Regions from separate parts of the Homo sapiens genome. Here region 2 is linked to region 1. Evidence: promoter capture Hi-C in 16 types of primary human blood cells and fetal thymus (Javierre and others, 2016). All regions are on one chromosome and are shown on one strand. Each heading gives the region's core, a stretch centred on a gene start or on the middle of the fragment in contact. The rest is flanking DNA. Distances are from core to core; before and after follow the strand shown.

The links. Contacts are between HindIII fragments. The CHiCAGO score rates a contact against its expected background, and 5 or more counts as called.
Region 2: a fragment that was not itself captured here is called in contact with the fragment with the promoter of ZNF620 in region 1 in 1 of 17 cell types (total B cells); the score reaches 7.4 in total B cells.

The regions. Positions count from the first base shown.
Region 1 is chr3:40,504,305-40,508,288 of GRCh38, reverse strand. ZNF620 (zinc finger protein 620) reads right to left here and starts at 2,250. Exons shown (of 5, transcript NM_175888.4): 1 at 2,151-2,250; 2 at 1,913-1,985. The coding sequence starts at 1,936. The HindIII fragment of the contact is 1,073 bases long and covers 2,250-3,322 here.
Region 2 is chr3:41,225,511-41,229,494 of GRCh38, reverse strand. CTNNB1 (catenin beta 1) reads right to left here. Exons shown (of 15, transcript NM_001904.4): 5 at 3,923-3,984; 6 at 3,634-3,835; 7 at 2,143-2,287. Among named protein-coding and RNA genes, the nearest start is that of CTNNB1, 28 kb to the right of the region's middle. RefSeq lists an enhancer at 3,888-3,984. The HindIII fragment of the contact is 951 bases long and covers 2,259-3,209 here.

The DNA of each region.
Region 1 (3,984 bases), core at 1,001-3,500:
TCTCAAATCTGTGACTTCAGCTTCCCCCTTAAAACTAAAAAAAGAATAGCAAATTTAACACAAAATAAATATAAAAAAGACATTAAAGATCAAAGTGAAAACTAATGACATAAAACAGAAAAGTAATGAAACCAGAAGCTAGTTCTTAAAGAAAAATTAATAAAATTCATAAACCTCTAGCCAGTGACCAGAAAAAAAGAGAGAATACACAAATCATTAATATTAGTAATAAAAGAAGTGACATCACTGCAGGTAATAAAAGATAAGCACATATTATGAACAACTTTATGTGAATAATTTCTACAACTTAGATAAAATGGATAAGTTCCTTGAAAGGCACAAGTTACCAAAACTCATTTAAGCTGGGCGTAGTGATGCATGCCTGTAGTCCCAGGTACCTGGGAGGCTGAGCGGGGAGGATTGCTTGAGCCCAATTTGAGGTCAGCCTGGGCAACATAGAGAAAACCGTTGTCAAAAAATAAAAATAAATAAATAAAAAGAGATAACCAGAGTAGCCCCTGTATCTACCAAAGGACTCAAAACTGTACTTAAAAACCTTATCAGAAAGAAAACCCCATGCCTAGATAGCTTCACTGTTGAATTCTACCAAACATTTAAGGAAGAAATGCAGTCAACTCTACATAAATTCTTCCAAAATATTAAAGAGGAGGGAATATTTCTCATTCTATGGAACAAAGACATCACAAGAAAAGAAAACTGCAAATCAATACCTCATAAACATAGATACAGAAATTCTAAATAAAATTTTAACAAATTAAATTCAATATATAGTACTAATAAAATAATAATACACCATGACGAAGTCGGTTTTATCCCACCGCAGAGTTGGTTTAATATTTGAAAGAAAAATCATGTAATTCACCACATTAACAAAGAGAGGCTGGGCACGGTGGCTCACGCCTGTAATCCCAGCACTTTGGGAAGCCAAGGTGGGGGAATCACGAGGTCAAGGGATCGAGACCATCCTGGCCAACATGGTGAAACCTGGTCTCTACTAAAAATACAAAAATTAGCTGGGTGTGGTGGCGCGTGCTTGTAGTCCCAGCTACTCGGGAGGCTGAGGCAGGAGAATCGCTTGAACCCCAGAGGTGGAGGGTGCAGTGAACCAGGATCGCGCCACTGCACTCCAGCCTGTCGATAGAGCAAGACTCCATCTCAAAAAAAAAAAAAAAAAAAAACCATATGGTCATCTAAATAGACACAGAAAAAGCAATTGTCAAAATCCAACATCCATTCCTATAAAAACTCTCACCAAAGTAGTACTAGAAGAGAATGCCTGATAAAGGACATTTACAAAACAAAACAAAACAAAAAAGCAAGAAACCTACAGTGAACATCAGTCTTCAGTGTGAAAGATTGAATGCTTTCACTTTAAAAGCATAAATAAGACAAAGATATCTGCTCTCACCACTTCTGTTCAATATTGAAATAATGCTTCTAGCCAGTGCAGTAAGGCAAGACAAAATAAAATAAAAGGCATCCAGACTGGAAAGAAAGGAGTAAAACTATCTTTACTCATAGATGACCTATGTAGAAAATACAATGGAATCTACAAAACAGTTACTAGAATTGCTATACTGAAGAAGTAAGTACTTCTCCAAGCCTGCGGACTAGGGTGAAAGGGGTCTTTATTGGATGTAATAATGCAGATTTCCACATTTCATAATTTTTATTTTTAAGCTGGCTTCAAATGCCAAATCCCAACCAATCCCCCCACACTCACTAGTTTTCTAGTCTTAATTTGGGCATTCTCACCTCTCCATCCCTCTCATAGTGACAGATGCACAATGGAAGCCACTGGCCTACACAACTCAAGATCTGAATGCAGAGGTGACACCTGCTCTCTCTTGACATCTAAAGGGTGGGAGGGAGGGAGAGGATGCTCACTCACCTGGCGCCAAGCGGTCTGGAACATGGCTGGCGTCCCAGCTTCACACACTGCCTCAGGGTTCGGAGAAGTGAAACTGAAGAGAAAATAAAGAAGCACCGGTGAGATTGATGCTGCCTCGCACCCCGCAAATGCCCTCTGTGCTACTTGGGCCCCTCTCCTTTCCGCCAACTCCTCACCCCAAAAAGCAAAGGGGTTGCAAAACCAGGCAGAACAAGCCCCAGGAAAACCAATCAGTTACCCGGACCGCGAACCTCTTCAGCTCGGACCGCGAATCCCGCGCGGCGCAGGCGCAGATAAAGCGTGGAAATTCCACCTGCCGCCGACACCGGGGAAAGCTTGAGACCCTCCGCCGGAAGTGCGTTTTCCATGCCCCTCCTCTCTAGGAACCTGGGAAGTTGCCAGTCTCTGTGGTTTCCTACCCCCGCCGTCAGCGCCAGTGTCCCTACTGCCTGAGACAACACGGGCCCGAGCGGGCGGCCCCAGGCAGGGGTCCTGCAGCGCCCACACCTGGTAGCTCCTTCGGGGCATGACGTCTGGCCAGCTCAGGCCACAGAATGGTTACTATCCTGGGTATTATTCGTGGTTATCTGGCATTTGCCACTCTGGGTGTCCTTCCAGATAATGAAGGGACCATCGCGCCCTTCACATGCGCCAAAACTGTCTGGATTGTGTGGGTGCGCTGCAGTGGGAAAAGTGGGTGTGGGGAAAGGCGAACCCATTACTCAGAAGGCCGAATGTGTATGGACTACGTAGGTCCAGAAACCCAGCTGCACCACTTGCTAGTTGTGTGACCTGCAGCAAGTTTCTTTGCCCCGGTTTCCTTGTCTATTAAATGGGTATTATGATGGTGGTACCAACCTCTTGAGGCTGTTCAGGGTTAATTCATTAAATTAGTTAATTGATAGGTAAATTATTTACAGTTGTGCCTGGCACATAGTATGTACTCGTGAGTTTGTATTGTTTTGTTTTCCAATTGTGTTTTTTGAAGACACAAAATAGGTGCTGCTGGGACTCCAATATGTGGCGTGCTTTAGGGAAATAGATTTTTTTAAGGACAATTTTCGAAGTTTAGCGAAAGAGCTATTAACATTTGGCTTAGAGCCCTTTCCTGCCCTGTACTGGGATGTGTGTCCCGGCCCAGCCTGGAAACAGATTTTAGTTATTCCTTCCACAGGAATTAGATTTATCCACCACTTTCAAAACAAGTCCTGCCATGGAGAGTATATTATGTATCTACTGCTGGATAATAAACTACTCTAATGCTTTGTGGCTAAAAACAATAAACATTGTTATCTTTTGACAGTTTCTGTGGACCCAGAATTCAAGAGCAGCTTGGCTGGGTGGTACTGGCTGAGGGTCTCTGCTGAGGTTGCAGTCAGGTGTCATGTGGGGCTGAAGTCATCTGAAGCTTGACTGAGTTTGGAGGATCCACCTCCAAGGTGGTTTACTCACATGGCTGTCAAGTGGGTGCTGGTTGTTGGCAGGAAGCGTCAGTTCCTTCCCATGTGAGGGTTTTCACAACATGGCATGTAGCTTTCTCCCAAAGTGAGCAATCCAAGAGGCCAAGGCCAAAGCTTTTATGACCTAGTTTTGGAAATCATGCATCATGATTTCCTCAATACATTCTCCTCAGATTAGTCATGATTCAGTGTGGGAAGAGATACACAAGGTTTGAATGCCAGGATATGAGAACCATTGGGAGCCATTGTGGGGCCACCTAGCACAGAGATTTTAACTGTCACAGAAACAGTTCATTTTATAAAATCTATAGTATTTTCACTTTAAAGTTTATGCACAGCACTTGTTTTAAATAATTAGATTTCCAGAAACAATGGCATGACAAGGACATACATGTGCATACTGTCCCTTCGCTAAACCTATTAAAATGAACATTTACCATGAGTGGGTGCACATAAACGTACATACATATACACCACAAATTCTAAACAGTATTAGCCAGTGGAAAAAAACATGATAAATTGGACTTAATCAAAGTTAAATCTTCTGCTTTTCAGAAGATACTTTTAGAGAATGAAAAGACAAGCCACAGACTGGGAGAAAATACCAAAAAT
Region 2 (3,984 bases), core at 1,485-3,984, 720 kb before region 1:
AATCAAGAATGCAATCCCATTTACCAAAGCCACAAAAAGAATAAAATACCTAGGAATACAACTAACCAGGGAGGTGAAAGATCTCTACAATGAGAATTACAAAAAACACTGCTCAAAGAAATCAGAGATGACACCAACAAATGAAAAAACATTCTATTTCATGGCAGGAAGAATCAATATTGTTAAAATGGCCATACAGCCCAAAGCAATTCACAGATTCAATGCTATTCCTACCAAACTACCAATGGCATTCTTCACATAATTAAAAAAAAACTATTTAAAAATTCATATGAACCCAAAAAAGAGCCTGAATAGCCAAGGCAATCCTAAGCAAAAAGAACAAAACTGGAGGAATCACTTTACCCAACTTCAAGCTATACTGTTAATACAAGGTTACAATCACAGCATGGTACTGGTATACAAACAGACACAGAGACCAATGGAACAGAAAAGAAAGCCCAGAAGTTAGGCCGCACACCTAACAAGTAAACAAAAACAAGCAATGGGGAAAGGACTCCCTATTCAATAAATGGTGCTGGGATAACTGGCTAGCCACATCCAAGATTGAAACTGCACCCCATCCTTACATGATGTACAAAAATCAACTCAGAATGGATTAAAGACTTAAATATAAAACTTAAAACTGTAAAAACTCTGCAAGATAACCTAGGAAATACCATTCTGGACATAAGACCTGGCAAAGATTTCATGACGAAGATGCCAAGAGAAGTTGCAACAAAAACAAAAACTGACAAATGGGACAGTATAAAGAGCTTCTGCGCAGCAAAAGAAATCAACAGAGTAAACAGACAACCTACAGAATGGGAGAAAGTACTGGCATGGGAGAAAGTACTGGCAAACTATGCATCTGACAAAGGTCTAATATCCAGAGTTTACAATAAACTTAAATTAACAAGCAAAAAAGAACAACCCCATTAAAAAGTGGGCAAAGGACATGAACAGACACTTTTCAAAAGAAGACATACAAGTGGCCAAGAAACATATGAAGAAAAGCTCGACATCACTGATCATTAGAGAAATGCAAATCAAAACCACAATGAGATACCGTCTCACACCAGTTAGAATGGCTACTAATAAAAAGTCAAAAAATGACAGATGCTGGTGAGGTTGCTGAGAAAAGAGAATGCTTATACACTGCTGGTGGGAAAGTAAATTAGTTCAGCCATTGTGGAAAGCAATTTGGTGATTTCTCAAAAAACCTGACAGAATTACCATTCAATCCAGCAATCCTATTATTAGGTATATGCCCAAAGAAAAAGAAATCTTTTTACCATAAAGACACATGCATGCATATGTTCACTGCAGCATTATTCACAATAGCAAAGATATGGAATTAACCTAAATGCCCATCAATGGTAGACTAGATAAAGAAAATGTGGTACATATATACTATGGAATACTAAGCAGCCATAAAAAAATACCAAGATGTCTTCCTCAGCAACATGGATGGAGCTGGAGGCCATTATCCTAAGCAAACTAACATAGGAATAGAAAACCAAATACCACATGTTCTCACTTATAAGTGGGAGGTAAACACTGAGTACACACGGGCACAAAGAAGGGAACAACAGACACTGGGGCCTACTTACGGGTGGGAGGTAAAGAACTGAAAAACTACCTATTGGGTACAATACTTACTGCCTGGGTGACAAAATAATCTGCACACGAAACCCCTGTGACATGCAATTTACCTATATAACAAGCCTGCACATTACCCGGAACCTAAAAGTTAAAACAAAACAAAAACTGCTCATGAGCATCTACTAATAAAGCAATCACTTTACATAAAACTGTACTATATTAGAATTTGTCTTTTCTCCTATAAATTCACAGCTCTGTTAGCAAATCTTAGGTTTACTCAAAACTGAAATTACAAACAAATTTTATTAAGCAAAACATATGCCATCATTTTTGATGGATAATAAGAACTCTACCTAAACTAGCCTTAAATATTTAGCTACAATCCAGATGACAGGTACTCTGAATGTAAATCTTGGCTGCAAACTGAATAGGACCATTTATTTTCAGTAGTTAAAGTTCTACCACCTTTTCCTAAGAAAAGTAATCTAATTAGAACTGCAGATGCTATACACAAGACTCAGAATAGATACATATACTTACCAGCTTCTACAATAGCCGGCTTATTACTAGAGCAGACAGATAGCACCTTCAGCACTCTGCTTGTGGTCCACAGTAGTTTTTCGTAAGTATAGGTCCTCATTATATTTACTAAAGCTTGGGGTCCACCACTAGCCAGTATGATGAGCTAGAAAGATATATATATATATCTTGTTAGTCAAGGAATCTTGATCACATGTCTGAGAAGAGCCATATTACCAACCTATTTTATTATACAAGAATTTCAGCCAGCTTGCCATTGGACCTAAATGTATTCCTGGACCCCATCACTCAGACCCCCATACTGGGGCCCTATCCAACTTGTCCTTTTAAAGCATTCCACTCAAATTCAGACATCCCAGTCCTCCAAACAATGTATCAGTTTGGGCCCAATTTCCTTCTTCCCACAGTGATCACACCAAAAGAAAAAAATTTAGAAACTATGTTGGTAGGCAAGAGTAATGCCCTAAGATGAAAGTTATATCAAAACTGATTCACTGAAAATTTGAACCAGAACTGGCACTTAACTCCTCATCATTTGGCCCTTTAATTTTCCTAATTATATCCACCTTAAAAACAGATACCATAAAATGATCATTCATGCTTGTCCTTTCATTCCCTGTATATCTTCCCTTTCAACACTGCCCCAATTTTCTAAAAACAAATTTCATCATTTCAGGCTTCTGCTGAAATTTCCCATTGTGCTTTTAAACATGCTCTACAAAGCCCTATGAGATCTGCTAAGTCTATCTCAATAGCCTCACCTCAAACCTTTCTTCCTCCTTACTATTAGTATTTCTTAAATTCCCAAAACTTTCCATCTCCTTCCTTCGTTTCAAAGATGTTGTTTTCTCACCTAACCTTCACCTAGTGAATCCCTTCTCATCCTTGAACACTGAACTCAACTATCACTTCCTCCAAGAGGTCTCCTTGAACCCTCAAAAAGAGTCAGTTTCAACTTGTGTTATGTGCCCTCATAGCCCCACTTCTTCCCACTACACAAATTAAATATTAGGTTATTATTCCCAACATCTACATCCCACCTAAGAACAAAAGTGTGAAGAGAAGCTTGCCTACCATATCCCTACTACTTCGCATAGTGCTTTACATATGGAAACTCAAAAATTTAAAAGAACAGAAATGAACTGGGCTGCACAGCAGGAGGTAAGTGGCAGGTGAGCGAGCATTACCTGGCTTGAGCTCTACCTCCTGTCAGATCAACTGCACCATGAGAGTCTCATAGGAGTAGAAACCCTAGTGTGGACTGCACATGCGAGGGATCTAGGCTGCACGCTCCCTATGAGAATCTAATGCCTGATTATCTGAGGTGGAATGGTGTCATCCAGAAACCATTCCCACAACCCATTCATGGAAAAACTGTTTTCCACGAAACTGGTCCCTGGTGCCAAAAAGGTTAGGAACACTGCATGGAATGACATGACACTGGAGGTGTCCAATGCTCCATGAAAACCACATAAAGAATAATTCTCTTACCTTGCTTTCTTGGTTGCCATAAGCTAAAATTTGAAGGCAGTCTGTCGTAATAGCCAAGAATTTAACATTTGTTTTGTTGAGCAAGGCAACCATTTTCTGCAGCCCACCAGCTAAACGCACTGCCATTTTAGCTCCTTCTTGATGTAATAAAAGGTTGTGGAGAGTTGTAATGGCATAAAACAACACAGAATCCACTGGTGAACTGGGAAGAAGAAAAAAGCCTCATCAGAAATATTGTGAGTATACTCTTCTACTTTTTAGCTTCAAGCATTCTGACATGTTTTCTTACCCAAGCATTTTCACCAGGGCAGGAATGCCTCCAGACTTAAAGATGGCCAGTAAGCCCTCACG